Regions from separate parts of the Homo sapiens genome. Here regions 1, 3, 4, 5 and 6 are each linked to region 2. The links are contacts of gene promoters, found by promoter capture Hi-C in blood cells and fetal thymus (Javierre and others, 2016). All regions are on one chromosome and are shown on one strand. The core of a region is centred on a gene start or on the middle of the fragment in contact, and the rest is flanking DNA. Distances in the headings are between cores, read along the strand shown.

The links. Contacts are between HindIII fragments. The CHiCAGO score rates a contact against its expected background, and 5 or more counts as called.
Region 1: a contact is called between a fragment that was not itself captured here and the fragment with the promoter of PALS1 in region 2, in 1 of 17 cell types (endothelial precursors). The highest score is 6.7, in endothelial precursors.
Region 3: a contact is called between a fragment that was not itself captured here and the fragment with the promoter of PALS1 in region 2, in 15 of 17 cell types (fetal thymus, megakaryocytes, naive CD8 T cells and 12 more). The highest score is 11.4, in fetal thymus.
Region 4: a fragment that was not itself captured here is called in contact with the fragment with the promoter of PALS1 in region 2 in 4 of 17 cell types (erythroblasts, total B cells, M0 macrophages and 1 more); the score reaches 8.5 in erythroblasts.
Region 5: a contact is called between a fragment that was not itself captured here and the fragment with the promoter of PALS1 in region 2, in 1 of 17 cell types (erythroblasts). The highest score is 8.9, in erythroblasts.
Region 6: a fragment that was not itself captured here is called in contact with the fragment with the promoter of PALS1 in region 2 in 1 of 17 cell types (M2 macrophages); the score reaches 5.4 in M2 macrophages.

The regions. Positions count from the first base shown.
Region 1 is chr14:66,638,936-66,641,635 of GRCh38, reverse strand. The region is part of intron 1 of GPHN (gephyrin); the gene reads right to left. Among named protein-coding and RNA genes, the nearest start is that of GPHN, 130 kb to the right of the region's middle. The HindIII fragment of the contact is 1,000 bases long and covers 766-1,765 here.
Region 2 is chr14:67,240,119-67,242,818 of GRCh38, reverse strand. It overlaps PALS1 (protein associated with LIN7 1, MAGUK p55 family member), which reads right to left and starts at 1,384. Exons shown (of 15, transcript NM_022474.4): 1 at 1,286-1,384. It overlaps LOC124903330 (a long non-coding RNA gene), which reads left to right and starts at 1,410. Exons shown (of 2, transcript XR_007064217.1): 1 at 1,410-2,700. It also overlaps a transcript of GPHN not described here. RefSeq lists a silencer at 803-1,772 and an enhancer at 1,753-2,032. The HindIII fragment of the contact is 3,073 bases long and covers 217-2,700 here.
Region 3 is chr14:66,358,121-66,360,820 of GRCh38, reverse strand. No RefSeq gene overlaps it. Among named protein-coding and RNA genes, the nearest start is that of CCDC196, 130 kb to the left of the region's middle. The HindIII fragment of the contact is 188 bases long and covers 1,170-1,357 here.
Region 4 is chr14:66,476,449-66,479,148 of GRCh38, reverse strand. No RefSeq gene overlaps it. Among named protein-coding and RNA genes, the nearest start is that of CCDC196, 8.6 kb to the left of the region's middle. The HindIII fragment of the contact is 609 bases long and covers 1,017-1,625 here.
Region 5 is chr14:66,401,603-66,404,302 of GRCh38, reverse strand. No RefSeq gene overlaps it. Among named protein-coding and RNA genes, the nearest start is that of CCDC196, 83 kb to the left of the region's middle. The HindIII fragment of the contact is 1,276 bases long and covers 811-2,086 here.
Region 6 is chr14:66,620,497-66,623,196 of GRCh38, reverse strand. All of the region lies in intron 1 of GPHN (gephyrin), which reads right to left. Among named protein-coding and RNA genes, the nearest start is that of GPHN, 110 kb to the right of the region's middle. The HindIII fragment of the contact is 7,774 bases long and covers 1-2,700 here.

The DNA of each region.
Region 1 (2,700 bases), core at 16-2,515, 600 kb after region 2:
AGCTATTGATGGTTGGTACTACTGACAGCATCATAAATTCTCCCAGTATATTTGGGGATTTGTCCAGTTCTTTTGCTTCTATCAATTTTTGCTTTATATATACTATCTCACTATGTGCATGCAGATTTAGGATAGTGAAAACTTCCTGATACAATTACCCTTTTATTATTATAAAACATCCATCTTTTATACAAATTCTCCTAACTTTATAATGAGGCTATATCCTGAGAAACCCACTGTAAGTGAAAAATATTGTTAAGTCAAAAATACATTTCATATACTATAGAGTGTTGGTTATTTACCCTCATGACTGCTTGGCTGAGTGGAAACTGCAGCTTGCTGCTACTGCCCAACACTGCAATAGAGTATTCTATTACATATCACTAGCCTAGAGAAAGATCAAAATTCAAAGCATAGCTTCTACTGAATGTGTATCATTTTTGCACCACCGTTACGTCAAACAATTGTAAGTTGAACCATCATACGTTATGGACCACCTATATTTAGTCTTTATCTTATAGTCTACCTTATTGGATATAGTAGCTACACCAGTTTGCCTTTCAGTGTTAGGACAGTGTATCTATTCATCCTTTTAGCTTCATCCTCCCATTTAATTTAAGATGTGGCTCTTGAATGCAGCATATAATTGGGGTTTACTTGTTTTATACAGCCTGACAAGCTTAGTGATTCAATTTTAATAATTAGTCAATTTATATTGAATGTGATTACCAATATAATTAGGACAAAACAGAGGAAGAATAAGCTTTACTACAGATACAACTGAGACTTGAAATACATCCCCAAGGTCAACTCTGATACAGAATGGTTACATGTATATTTTATCTTGATTTTCTCATTGCTCTAAGCAGAAGTACTAATTTGCTACCAGCTACTCCATTCTACTTGGAAGGAAAGCCTCAACACATAGGTTTTCCTAAAATCAAATATTTACTTGAAAGCCTGTATTAAATCCAAGGTGATGTTCAAGGTCAAACTTAGTCTCTGAATAATATTTGCCTCAAACAAAAGTACTAGTAGCACTTTGGACATTTCATAGTATAACAATAAGAGAGTGGTATAGTTAAAAAACCCCAAAGGATAAAAAAACTGTTAAGTAATTAATATCATTTCATGTTCATTTTTAATGTGACCTAGGAAATAAACTATTGTAAATGTCTTCCAAAACCATTTCATTTTTTTGTTGTTGTTTTGTTGAGGCAGAGTCTCATTCTGCTGCCTGGGCTGGAGTGCAATGGTGCAGTCTTGGCTCACTGCAACCTTTGCCTCCAAGGTTCAAGTGATGCTCCTGCCTCAGCCTCCTGAACAGCTGGGATTACAGGCACGTGCCACCACGCCCAGCCAATTTTTTGTATTTTTAGTAGGAATGGAGTTTCACCATGTTGGCCAGGCTGGTCTTGAACTCACGACCTCAAGTGATCCGCGTGTCTCAGCCTCCCAAAGTGCTGGGATTACAGGCATGAGCCACCATGCTCAGCCCAAAACCATTTCTTAGGCCACAAAAAATTATCTCACACACAAATCAATTCAGGAATGAACAAAAGAATATGATCCATTGCACCTAGGTGTTTCAGCTTCTTTATTATAAATGCCTTTACTCCAGTCTATGTCATCTGTGATCCTTCATTAAATCCCTACATTTAATATCTTCTCTAACCTAATCTCCAATGAATACCCAGTTACTTTCTAAACAGAAATACGATAAGCACTACTTACATTTACATATAAAATCTCCCAATGGCAAGCTTTAATTTCAGACAAAATTTCATATGTATATATCTGTTAAAATTTGTAGATGTATAAACTTATAAATCAATTTAGATATATAAATTTTATAAAATATCATCTATAGTTTATATGTTACATATATACACATATATATGTGTATGTGGGGGTACACACATACATATTTCTAGCTATTCTCTTGCCTCTGCCTTTTATTTGCCAAACTTTAAAATAAGCTTCAAGGTCTAGCTTAACTTTTCAAATGCCAAAAAAAAAAATAATCATCACCATTCACCAGCTGGGTCAGATGGACTATGTAATTTTATTTTTATGTTCAAGTCATTTTATATTGCAGAAGTAAAAATAAAGGAGCAGTGAAATTTCATCAGAAAGTTTTGGTTTTGAATGTATATGTATTCAATGTCTTCTAAATGCAACTAACGCTTCATCAATTGTCATGTATGAACCAGAGACACATCCATCTTGTACATATTGATTCCAGATGTCAAATACATCTCTAATTGGATCTAACTTATCATTATTCTTGTTCTTCTTGAACTGACATCATCAAAATACAGCACACCTGATGAATTTTTTTTAAACCTTTAGCTTATAGTTTTGATGAAGAGAAAATGGCCATCTTCTTTGTTCGATAATTGCAAAAGTTTCATTTTTACACTTATAACACCACTTATAATTACCAATTAATAATTTTTTCATTTCTACATTATCTGTTTCCTTCTAGTCACCTATGCATATATATATATATATTTACCTTCAGTATTTGTCCACTTAGGAACCATATATAATGAATCTGAGCACGAAATCATAAAAGATTAAAGAATATGTTACCTATCCTTTTAGCAAAATGAGATGGTCCAGGTTCTTGCTGCAAAATACTGTGTGATAAGGTCCTTCCTGTTCTTCACTAACTGAATGTGAATACGTTATCTGCTT
Region 2 (2,700 bases), core at 135-2,634:
ACTAATTCAGGTACATGGTAAAATTTACCAGATTTTTAAAGATAAAATAATGAATTGCTTTTCCTATTTTTGCCTGTTTTATCTATAAATCTCTTACATTATAATTTAATAGCTCATCCTGCCGCAAATAGAAAGCCTATAAAACCTATCCACAATAGCTATGTCCACAGGGATCTAGTAAAAAAAAAAAATCGTAGTTCTTAATTCAAGGAAGCTTATTTAATAAGTTTCATTACCACCAATACTTCAAAGACACCAATAACCAACACGTCATTTGTTCCTATTGCATAATTTAACAGGTTATTAACTTCTGGTATAATCCAAAAGCATAATTAGTAAACTATCATTAAAACATGATATTGCTTTTTTAAAAAATCAGAAATATTAACACCTTTCACTGCGTCAGTCAAATCAAAATTTCAAAATTTTTGTTCAACTGACTTTCCAAATCTAAATTCTTACTATTCTAAACGAGTATGGAGACAAAACACACACTCCATACTACATCTAAAAACTTCCTAGCCATCAGATTTTAATTTTAGCATAAACTGCCAAGAAAAACCTTTTGACCGAAACCTACATTCCGTACACATTACTGTATGTCAATCAACAGAAGGTGAGTTATGATCATTAGAAAGTTACATAATTTACTACAAAGATCGTTTAAAGCAAACTTCATTAAACGTAGGTTATAACAATTTACATGCTTCAAAGTTCAACGTGCAACCTTAAAGTATCAGAAACCATGAACAAAACTAGGCTTTTCTTTTAAAGTGGTCACAAGGAAGCAGGAACTGTTTGCGTGTTTAAGAACGCAATGAGCAGCAGAATACCAGCAGCTGAGTCAGGCAGAGGAACGCTGACTACATTCTGACTTCTAAAGGAAAGCGTTCCCTCGCCGATTTCCCAGACCCGGCCGGGAGAGTCCCGCGCGTCGCGACCTCGGAGAGAGGGCGCAGGGGGCAGACGACTCCCCGCCGCGCCCCCTGCACCTCGGGCTCGGCTGGCTGTGGCCCGCGCCAAGGTGCATGCCCAGCCAAGCAGAAGGAGCGGGCACCGCGCAGGCAGCGTTGCTCCGAGGGACAAAGGTTGGGCTCACACCCTCCACGGCCGCAGCTCGCGCGCCTGAGGAAGCCCGCCTGGCTGCCAGGGGTCTCCCGCTGGCCGGAGTTTGCGCAGCGTGTGGGGGAAGGGGAGCCCGGCCGCCCGCCCCTCCCCCGCCGCGCTCCCAGGGACCTGTTGATTAAGATCTCTACAGCCCAGCCGCCGCCGATCCGCCTCTTACCTCCACGCCTCGGCTCCGCGGAGCCTCCCGCCCCGGCCGCTCCTACGCACTGCAGAAGCGACAGCCCTCCGGCGGCCCTTGAAATTCCGGATAAAGAATCCAGAAACTCCCGACTCCCCACCTCAGAATCCTTAGTCCCCGCCCCCGCCCCACCGCCTGCCTCCTCCGTCGCCGCCGTCACCGCCGCAGCCGCCAGCAACTCCACTTCTAGACCGCGCGAGACCGGCCCCTGCGGCCGCCGCGAGACCGCGCACGCGCCCCCGGGACTCTGGCGCAGTGGGCGCGCGGATCCGAGTCCCACCCCGCCCGTGAGAGGCTGGCGCGGCTTGCCCAATCCCGAGCCGGAGCGGAGAGAGCGCCCGCTCATTGGTCCTCTCCGCAGCTCCAGCCGGGTGCGCGCAGTCGCGCGCCTCTAAGTCTAAAACGCGGACTGCTCCGGGCTAGCTGGCCCGGTAGAGCCCCTTCGGGATTTGGCCGGCGGGCTTTGTGGGGACGCGAGGCTTCCCTGGGTTTCTACATCCCTTGGCTCTTGTCTCTGGATGACGTATCCTGAAGAAAATCTGATTCCTCTTGAAGAGATTCCTCATGTCCTGTCAAGTTAGTCACCCAATCTAACATTTGTTTTTTTTAAAAAATGACATAAACACCTGGATGTGTGCAGTGTCCCGCAGAAGACTGCATAAAGCCAGCAGCTGCACTGATTTCTGAAAACCAGAAAGCAAGGATAGCAAGGACTAGAACTATTTCCCAGAAGTCTCCCGAAGGGACAGAGTTACGCAGATCAGCCCGTGCTCCGGGCATGGCTGGCGCCCTCGGGACCTGGATGTGCCACCCTTGGAATGGGGCAGGACTCAGGCGGGTGCGGGCGGAAGTCAGAGCAGATTGGAGGACGTTCTAAGGAGAAACACCAGCAATGTGTCTCGACACTTGCAATAAAAGCCCTCGGATGGTCTCTGTCTTGACAGTACCTTCCGAGCAAGCCCATTCCACATTTGAACACTTGCAAGGTTTGTTAATCGACCTCTCCTTCTATGAGGCCAAACTATGCCTGTGACTCCAGCCCGGGGGCACAGTTTCCCCCAGGGGCACAGTCCTCCCTCAAAGCCTTCGTATATGCCATTTCCATTTCTCTCGGTTTTCCTCATTTTGTCCCACGGTGTTTTTCCATCTCGCAATGTCCTCAGGTCCTGATTTTCAAGCTCTTTCACATTCTTCCCCATTACGCTCCTCTGGACAGCCTATGGGTTGTGGTGTCCCTCACTAAGGACACTGTGATGGCCTGAACGAAGCAAACCGTTGTTCCTGGTGGTGAAGATCTTTGGGGATGCCTACCCTTCCCAGATTTGTTATCCTTCTCAAATCTGATCAGCATTCTGTCCAAGTGTTTAATAAGACAGAGCGGAGGACAGAACTCT
Region 3 (2,700 bases), core at 14-2,513, 880 kb after region 2:
ACTCCCCCACCCCTCCCAGGCAGACACACGCTTGCAGGGAGGTTAATTGCTACTGCCTTTATGAGCCCTGACCTGTGCAGACAGCATTCTCGGATCACTTCTCCCACCTCTGGGGCCGAGGTTAACGGTCACTGTGCAAGACTGCTTGGGACAGGGAGTGGTAGAATCTAATTACTGGCTCTTGTGGGGTGGACCCGTGAGTGCGTCTTTATGAACATGATGGGCTGAAGTAATCTCCAAGTCTGCGTGCTAATGACCTTCTGAAAGCTATTGTTATTTCCAAGGCCCTGAGGAAATTATATCTTAATTGTGAGTCTAAAATGCCCCCTATTAACTCTCTCTGTTGCCCTTACCTGATTCTTATTGCTCTGAAATCTGCTTGATCCAAATGCAACCAAATTACTTCCTCATTTTGTTCAAGAGATCCTAGATTATTTCTGTTTGAACCACCATCCCCTGTGTGGGTCCCTGTCCTCATTTGTTTCCAGCCTTAGTTGGTCCTCTCCCTAACTGGTAGATTTCCCCACGGGTACGAGTGCATAATTCTCTCTTTCTAAACAAGTTGCAACAGATTTTCTGTTTTCTGCTTTTTGAAGATATGGCTGGACATCTTAAAATACAGATTTTTGCATCTTTATTTTCTTGACTCTCTTAGTAGGTGAGTCATTAGAAGTAACAAAGAGAAAGCAGGATTAATGGTGAACATTATAAACATAGTTGGAAATAGTATTTGCGAGCTACTATTAATAGGATTTCCCCCCTCTGATTTGTTTGTGTGTTTCAGTTATGTATATTAACATTTATTTTGTCCCTGGGTTAATTCTTTATTCTCTGAAACTCCAGGAAAACAACATTGCTGTGTTGTTAACATGCCGGTGAATATTCTGCACATATACACATGCCCCTGCTGTGAATCTTTCTGGCAGACATTGTTTTCTCTGAGGGCAAGAGCTAAAATTTAAAAGCATCTCACCTGACAAATGATTAGGGAATAATTCTTCTTCAACCAAATGCCAAAACAAATCAGCTCCCTAAAGTGATGTGAGATCTCCTCAAGCTGTGCCTGGTAATATTAATAAACGAGTAGATGCCTCTGCCCACAGCTTGTCATTTCAGTGTCCCCCCCAACCCTACAGGCATCAAAGCCAAAAAAAAAAAAAAAAAAAGCTTAGGTTGCCTTTAGGAAGTTAAAGCCTGCCATCTTGTGGCGAGTTCATACAATTACACTAATATTTCATCAAGTTTAAGAATCGCATCTTGGAATTTACCAAAGGTATTTTTGGCATGCACTCACAAATGGCATCTGATGTATTTGGGCTGCGCTTATTCTCTGATAGGTACCAAAAGCTCTAAAGCTTGAAAATGACTACGAGTGCATCTTTGACATCTTGCCTTTGAGAAGCAAGTGAGAAGGTGGATGCTGGGGTGAGAGCTCTATTGTACTGTCAGGTTCTTCTAGGATTTGTAATGCTAAAAAGTGGGACCATCTGGGATACCAGTGACTGCAGCTGCCTCCAGTTCTAGGCAAATGGGTAATTTCTTTAAGTGCCCTTCTGATGAGCAGAAAAACTTCAGGCTTGTTAGCTCAAGAGTCATTTGCAGATACACCTGGAGAGATCATAGCAGGTGGTGCAGTAGAGCACCCAACTCAAGAGGCTGATCCATCCATTGGGTGCTCAGCAAATGAAAACTAATGATGCCTGTTAGTGGTTGGGGAATTTTCCTTTAACCTGGACAAATGGGAATTAAAAAAAAAAAAAGGCGCATCTTCAAGCATAATCCTCTGGCTTATGCATTTTGAGGTTAGAGAACAACACCTGGAAGATTTGCTTTTAAAAAACTATTTGTCAGATTTTAATGATTTTTTTCCACATTCTGCTCCTGCTTTCTACAGGTTCTCACAGTTGGAAAATGACAGGAGAAGGTGTTTGCTATGATATATGCAATCTATCTGGTGGTCAGAACATGGGAAAAAGAGGGGGAAGTTGGGCTTATCCAGATTTAAGCTCACTTAAAAAGCAAGAACAAGTTTGAGGGAGCTGAGTAATTTACATACTTTCAGACACAGCTGCACAATTCTTTTCAGTTTTCCCATCTGTGAGCTAGAAACGAAGGGAATGATCAAATTTGCCAATTGATTGCCTTCATGGATGTTAATGCAGTGAGGCAATCTCTAAGGTTGTTAGTGTAGCAGGGTATGTATCCTCTATTAAAAGGGGTGCACAAACTTTTAATTAAATTTGATTAAATTCGAGGGGTTTTTCTTCTTGTTTTTTCAGTACCATTTGATTCAATCAGGTTGAGAATAGAGAATCACTTTGAAGTAAATGTTCCTTGTTCTTCAAAGAAGGCTTCAGTAGGCTTCCTTGGTTATGTAAATGTCAGATAAGTAAGCCTCCTGGTCCCAGGAGAAAGCTGGAACAAGACATCCTGTGCTTTGAGTGGTTTAGAAAAGGTTGCCTCTTGGCCGGGGGCGGTGGCTCATGCCTGTAATCCCAGCACTTTGGGAGGCCGAGGCAGGTGGATCACGAGGTCAGGAGATCAAGACCATCCTGGCTAACACGGTGAAACCCGGTCTCCACTAAAAACACAAAAAATTAGCTGGGCGTGGTGGCGGGTTCCTGTAGTCCCAGCTACTCCGGAGGCTGAGGCAGGAGAATGGTGTGAACCCGGGAGGTGGAGCTTGCAGTGAGCTGAGAT
Region 4 (2,700 bases), core at 72-2,571, 760 kb after region 2:
TTACCTAATTTGATAGATTTAGATTCAGTGTGTCAGAGAGTGAATGACAGAAGTAACACTTTTAAAATAAAATGAGAAAACCCAAAAGAACAAATATTCTTGACACCTATGATTAGGCATTATAGGGGACATAGAAAAGTACTAAATAGATAAAATATAAAATTTGTAAAGGGCTGGGTTATATAATACATCTCAAATTAGATAATCTAGTCATATTCCACAGCCAAAATAAAAAGTAGTCTCCATAGTCTAAACTGAGCAAAAATTATCTAGTTCTGCGTTAGCTACTCATATAGGCTCATCTGCCACCTCTACTGAAATGATTGAACAACCTAAAGTATGCCACTGGTATAATTTTCTCAATTTAACAATAACCATCTACAATATTAGGCACTACAAAATAAAAATAACCAAATTATGTACCCTTGCCCCATATGCTGCTTCAATAATGACATTTGTCATATTAGGCCTTTTTTCTGTATAGTAGCATTTTTCCATCTTTTATTTGCATTTGTATTTGCAAATAAAAAATGATATATAAATAAATGATAATTAGGAAAATATAAAGAAGCAGAGTCTGAACAGGTTCTGTATATTTTTTAAAGGCTGTGTAAGCCCTAGGTGACAACTCTGAGAATCTTCTGGCTTTATAAGCTGGTCATTTTCCATGTAAAAAAAATTTTTATTCTGAGACTTGTTTAATATACCAGATCTGACTCCCTTTCCAATTTCAGTTTGGATGCACTGTGGCAAACGTTCTGAATGTTATAAAATGAGATATCAAATGAAATACTATTTATGAACCACAAAATCATTTTAAATAAATGAAGTTTTATTACTTGAGTACATGTATTAGAAACTGGTCTATAACCCAAGCAGCGTTTACTAAAAATTAAATGAAGGCCATTACATATAGTAATATATCATGATAATAAATCCCTGAATTAGGATATTAACTCTAAATCTTTAAATTAAATCAGGACTAGTTACTCCTTTGTCCAAATGGTCAAAAAGCTTGATCTAAGGTGTTCACATTAATTAAAAATTTTTGTAAGTTAAATTATGATATAGATTGACATTTTAAAATATAACTCTCCCAATTTCATAAAGAAGTTTAAAAAGGTTAAACGTCTTAATGACTATGCTGGGACTTCCTTTATAAATCCACTCTTGGGCATGTGATTATGACATGCCCAAGAGAGAGATAGATACATTCTTTTGTCTTGCCCATTGAATAGACTCAATAATTAACAAATTGGATTGGAGTAGGTAGTTGCAAGTATCAGCATTTTTCAGCTTGAAACTTTTCTTACATGTAGCCAACACTATTATTTGCCTACATCAATGTTACTTCCTCTTTTGTCCATATGTTCAGTCCCAGGGTTAAAATCACAATTGATCTGAACCAACTGTGGCAATTCACATCCTCTTTGCCAGTGACAGGTCTGAGAATGGACATGGGATTCAGTCCTGGCTAGTGAAACATGAGGTGAAGCCTTCTGGGGTTTCTGGGCAAATTTTTTCTTTCTCTTTAATAAAAGGAGGAAAACAATGACAAGTAAAAAGTATATTTTCTTTACAATGTCTTTTCTACTTTGGATATGGTCCTAAAAGGACAGGAAGCTTGGAGCTACTCTGGCTGTTTTGTAACAATAAGGTAGAAGGCCAAGAGAATTATGGAGAAACTGACCCAATACCCTGAGATGGTGGAACTGCTGAAACAAACTTTGAACCGCTACGTCCAGACTTCTTTTACATGGAAAAAAATATATATTCCTTTATTGTTTAAGCCACTGATAGCTAGATTGTTTGTTACTTCAGCTGAATATATTTTTCCTTGAATACCATATAAATGCAGGGCCAGTATTGTGCCAGAGCCAGCTTACACTGGCTTGTGAGATGATTGTGCCTATCTGTTTCCAATTCCACATTCAGTGACTTTAAATCATCTGGGGTGAATAGTCACACTCTGGAACCAGGCCAAAGATACATATCCGAGCTGTTTTCACCAGAGAGCTGGTTGTTGAAAACATTTATCAGCATCACACCACTAGGTGACTTACATTAACTCCTACAGATAATGTCATAGCAACTACTATGCTACCTATCATCTTTTAAAGTGCATTTTTAATAGTAAATGGGTAATAAGTTATATCAAGACATTTTTAATTTGTGGAATTTTAGAACCAGAGGACAGTTTAGTAAATTTAAAAACCGAAATCAAATACTGGGTGATTTTAAAACTAATCTAACATTATATAACTAGTTAATAGCAGAGTTGAGTCTCGAATTTGACTCTTTATTCCCATTTTGGTGATTTTTCCAGTATACCATATAGCCATTATATTATTTATACAATAATAATAATAATTCTTTGAGTGCCAACATCTATCTTCAAATCAAAATAGTAAGTTAGCAAGATACTCAATTTCCGTATAAATAGACTGGCCTAGTTTTGATGATGCATATAATGTAACATTTAATTATATATTGTAAGTTTTGGTCTATTTAGCAAAGATACAGACGTTGAAGAAGGCTGACATATGGAAACTTAGCATGACAACCATGCTTAGCCAACAACCTTCAATTATCATGACTCACACTACTTCCAATAAGTAACCGGATGATCAGAATTGAGCTTGGATTCCCCAACTACACCAGAGATACTCGTACAGAGGGGAAACTGCTACCCACATCCAT
Region 5 (2,700 bases), core at 199-2,698, 840 kb after region 2:
TTGAATATGAAGCCAGAGACAGTTTGCAAAAGCCTTTGTGTTCTTCGCAGCGTTGTCTCTCATCTTTCTAAATACTGTAGATAGAAAAGGAAGCACGTTGAGGAGGAGCAGACACAGCTAAGCAGGGCTCCAACACATTTCCAAAGGGGCATGCCTCCAGTGCCATGCTGCTAAGCTAGGGCTGCTAGTGGGAAGCCCCATTGACTTTGGATGCAAACCACAAAGCAGTCTCCTCTGCCACCACTGACTACTCCCTGCCTGCAGCCCCTGTATGTGCTGAGATGGCTTCAGAGATAAATTTAAAACTTAAAAAAATGCATTCTTTCTACTTTTGCTTGAATATGGGCTTCATCAGCCATCAAGGCTAATTGTAAGCTGCAGGATGCAAAAAGAATTAAAGTTAGCCAAACAACATTTGATTAACAAGACCTGGTGAAAGCAAAGCTAGGGAGAGTATGGAGTTTGTTTTTGGTTACCCCGGTCTCTTTGACCCTCTCATATTTCTCCAAGGTCCTCCACTTTGCCCTGCCCTTCTTGATTTCTATTCCTGTAAGATCTTTTTCATTTACCTTCAGCTAAAATCTGCTGAGGTATGAGATGAAAGAGATCTAAGGGCATGTTCGCCCATGGGCCTTTCAATTTTGATAAAAGACATTGGAAGAGTTAAAATCCCCTGATGCTCGGGAAAAATATGAAGCTCTGATGATGAAATTTTGGGTGTCATGGGGGCTGGAGTGAGAATCACAAATCAGGACCTTCCCTGGAATTCTTTATATTGAACCTCATAGGTGTCCAGCTAAGGTGAAAGCTTACCTTGTGTATTAGCAATACCAACAGAGGCTAATGCCTTATGAACCATCACTTATGTCTGCAGTACTTCTCACAAAAACTTTGTGTCCACTAGATGGCATTCAGATAGAGCTGGTGGATGAAGTCTTGGTTCTGTAACCTACCGAGGTTAAAAAAAAATCGTCCAGGGAGTACTTCCTTCCTGCCAGGGTTTTAGCTTTGTTCCTAATATCTCCGCCTCAGGATGTGTACTATACGTTTGTGCCTGCTACTGAGTGCAGAAATACGTGTCATCTTACTTGCATATGGCACTTTATAGTTTTCAATGTACCTCACATGTATTACTCCTTTTTGAGCTCACTTCTCAGATTTGTAGAAATTATCATTTCCATTTTACCTCTGAGGAAACAGAGGTTCAAATACATCAGCTAGGAAGTAGCAGAACTAGAACTTGAATCTAAACCTTTTGGTTCTCATTCTAAATAGACCATATTTCATCCCAAAACGGGAAATCAGGGGTGTATCATAGAAGAGACAGAGAGGTGCTGGCTGACTGAGAGGGCAGGAAAACCCTTAGAGGACTACCTGGAATTGGAAAGTGAGTCTGGTCAGCATATGAAAATATAGAAAAGGGGAACATTCTGGGAGCACCCTTCCCTCTGGTGATACCAGTGGATGCTATGATTTCCGTGCCTTAGGTCCAGAGCAGTGGGGCAGACAACAACATAGTATAGCCTGTGACTTTCAGGAAGTCAGGAGATTAGGAAACCGCAGGTTGGGCTGCAGAGAAGAAACATGGTGCTTTACATGGAGCAGAGGATTTGCCAGCTACCTCTGAGATTCCACTCGTGCAGTCAAGACAAGTCCTGAGATGAGACTGCTTCAAAATCACATTTCAGCTGGGAATGCAAAAATGACTGTGGGTACATAGAAGGGCTTGTGCTGACCGACATCTCCCAGGAATTATCTGCATGTTGTCTACTTATTTAATGCATTATATAAATGTTATAGAGTGTTGTATTTCATTAATACTGTCTTGTTGTAGAATACTTGTCCTGTATTCCAGATGTTCCCAGGGATAGTGGGAGAAGGGTTTATATGAACCAGCAATATTCCATGCATTTAGTTACTCCTGGGAAATTAATATAGCAATAGCAGTGACTAAGGAATTAAGAGAAGGAAGGTGGTAGATTAGCAGACACAAAGGTACTAAGATGGAAATGAGTTTATCTGCAGGGAAGAATACAAACCCCTGCCTTGTCAAAGTGGAGAATCTGGGAACAATTGAAAGTAAGCTTGGACAGGTAATTTGAGACTGCATTATTGGGCCTGGTGTGCCACACTGCAGAGGACTGCCTTGATGATGGCATTTGGACATCATTAAAGGTTTTTAGTGTGATGCTAGGAGGGTTATTCCAGCAATACACAAGATGGCTAGGAGTGGGAAGAGCCTGGGGACAGGGAGAAAAGACCTACAGATACTGGATTAATTTTCATATGAGGTAATAAAGGGCTGACTTCGTGTGGAAATGGAAATGAAGGACAGATATGAAAGATACTAAGATGAGTCAATGAGAAAGTCAGTTGTTTATTGAACATGTTGTCCCCACTGGGTTTTCCTGTTATTCTTTTAACCTCACATTCTTGCTGCTTGTTTTCTCAATGTGGTCCCCTGTTGTCTTAATAGAGCAGTGGAGCTCTGCTCATTAAAATTATGCAGCACAAGTATCACTCATTTTAAGTAACTGATTTTATAGCACTTCAAACCTGCCAAGTTGATAAATTAGGCACTGTACTATTTTACACAATCTGGAGTCTCAGATTTAGGGAATTTTGAAAATTGGCAAATCCTGTGGCAAATGGCAGCACCTGCTGGCAAATATGATATTACAGGCTAACTCAAGTAGACAG
Region 6 (2,700 bases), core at 27-2,526, 620 kb after region 2:
CCTGCACAAGTTCTCTCTTTGTCCACTGCCATATAAGAGGTGACTTTGTCCACTGCCATACAAGCTCCTCTTTGCCTTCTGCCATGATTGTGAGGCCTCCCCAGTCATGAAGAACTGTAAGTCCATTAAACCTCTTTCTTTTATAAATTGCCCAGTCTCAGGTATGTCTTTATCAGCAGCATGAAAATGGATTAATACAGTAAATTGGTACCAGTAGAATGGGGTGCTGCTGAAAACATACATGAAAATGTGGAAGCGAGTTTGGAACTGGATAACAGGCAGAGATTGGGACAGTTTGGAGGGCTCAGAAGAAGACAGGAAAATCTGGGAAAGTTTGGAACTTCCTAGAGATTTGTTGAATGGCTTTGACAAAAATGCTGATAGTGATATGAACAAAAAGGTACAGGCTGAGGTGGTCTCACAAGGAGATGAGGAACTTGTTGGAAACTGGAGCAAAGGTGACTCTTGCTATGTTTTGGCAAAGAGACTGGCAGCTTTTTGCCCCTGCCCCAGAGATCTGTGGAACTTTGAACTTGAGAGAGATGATTTAGGGTATCTGATGGAAGAAATTTCTAAGCAGTAAAGCATTCAAGACATGACTTGGGTGCTGTTAAAGGCATTCAGTTTTAAAAGGGAAACAGAGCATAAAAGTTTGGAAAACTTGTAGCCTGACAATGCGAAAGAAAAGAAAATCCCATTTTCTGAGGAGAAATTCAAGCCGGATGCAGAAATTTGCAAAAGTAATGAGGAGCTGAATGTTAATCCCCTAGACAATGGGGAAAATGTCTCCAGGACATGTCACAGGTCTTCATGGCAGCCCCTCCCATCACAGGCTCAAAGGCCTAGGAGGAAAACATGGTTTTGTGGGCCGGGCCAAGGGTCCCCATGGTGTGTGCAGTCCAGAAAGGTGGTGCCCTGCATCCCAGCTGCTCCAGCCATGACTGAAAGGGGCCAGTATAAGCTCAGGCCATGCGTTCAGAGGGTTCAAGCCCCAGGCCTTGGCAGCTTTCATGTGGTGTTGAGCCTGCAAGTGCATAGAAGTCAAGAACTGAGGTTTGGGAGCCTCCACCTGGATTTCACAGGATGTACGTAAATACCTGGATGTCCAGGCAGAAGTTTGCTGCAGGGGTGGGGCGCTCATGAAGAACCTCTGCTAGGGCAGTGCAGAAAAGAAATGTGGGGTTGAATCACCCACATGGAGTTCCTACTGGGGCTCCAACCTAGTGGAACTGTGAGAAAGGGCCACCATCCTCCAGACCCCATAATGGCAGATCCACCGACAGCACTGTGTGCCTGGAAAAGCCACAGACAGTCACTACTAGCCAATGAAAGCAGCTGGGATGGAGGCTGTATCCTGCAGAGACACAGGGGTGGAGCTGCCCAGACCATGAGAACCCACCTCTTGCATCAGCATGACCCGGACATGAGATATGGAGTCAAAGGAGATCATTTTGGAGCTTTAAGATTTCACAGCCGGCTGGGTGCGGTGGCTCACGCCTGTAATCCCAGCATTTTGGGAGGCCGAGGCGGTGGATCACAAGGTCAGGAGATCGAGACCATCCTGGCTAACATGGTGAAACCCCGTCTCTACTAAAATACAAAAAATTAGCTGGGCATGGTGGCGGGTGCCTGTAGTCCCAGCTACTCAGGAGACTGAGGCAGGAGAATGGTGTGAACCCAGGGGGTGGAGCTGGCAGTGAGCTGAGATCGTGCCATTGCACTCTAGCCTGGGCGACAGAGGGAGACTCTGTCTCAAAAAAAAAAAAAAGATTTGACAGCCCTGGCCAGGCACTGTGGCTCACATCTGTAATCCCAGCACTTTGGGAGGCCGAGGCAGGTGGATCACGAGGTCAGGAGATAGAGACCATCCTGGCTAACATGGTGAAATCCCATCTCTACTACAAATACGAAAAAAAAAAATTGGCTGGGTGCAGTGGCTCATGCCTGTAATCCCAGCACTTTGGGAGGCCGAGGCAGGCGGATCATGAGGTCAGGAAATCGAGACCACCCTGGCTAACACAGTGAAACCCCATCTCTACTAAAAATACAAAAAAAAAAAAAAAAATTGGCTGGGCTTGGTGGTGGATGCTTGTAGTCCCAGCTGCTCAGGAGGCTGAGGCAGGAGAATGGCGTGAACCCGGGAGGCAGAGCTTGCAGTGAGCCAAGATCACGCCAGTGCACTCCAGCCTGGGCGACAGAGTTAGACTCTCTCTCTCAAAAAAAAAGATTTGATAGCCCTGCTGGATTTGGGACTGGCATGGGGCCTGTAGCCCCTTTGTTTTGGCCAATTTCTCCCATTTGGAATGGTTGTATTTACCCAATGCCTGTACCTCCATTGTATCTAGGAAGTAACTAAGTTGCTTCTGATTTTACAGGCTTATAGGCAGAAGGGACTTGCCTTGTCTCAGGTGAGACTTTGGACTGTGGACTTTTGAGTTAAAGCTGAAATGAGTTAAAACTTTGGGGGACTGTTGGGAAGGCATGACTGGTTTTGAAATGTGAGGATATGAGATTTGAGAGCGGTCAGAGATAGACTGATATGGTTTGGCTGTGTCCCCTCTGCCAAATCTCATCTTGAATTGTAACTCCTACAATTCCCACGTGTCATGGGAAGAACCTGGTGGGAGGTGACAGAATTATTGGGGAGGAAGGTATTTCCCGTGCTGTTCTCATGATAATGAATGAGTTCTCATGAGGTCT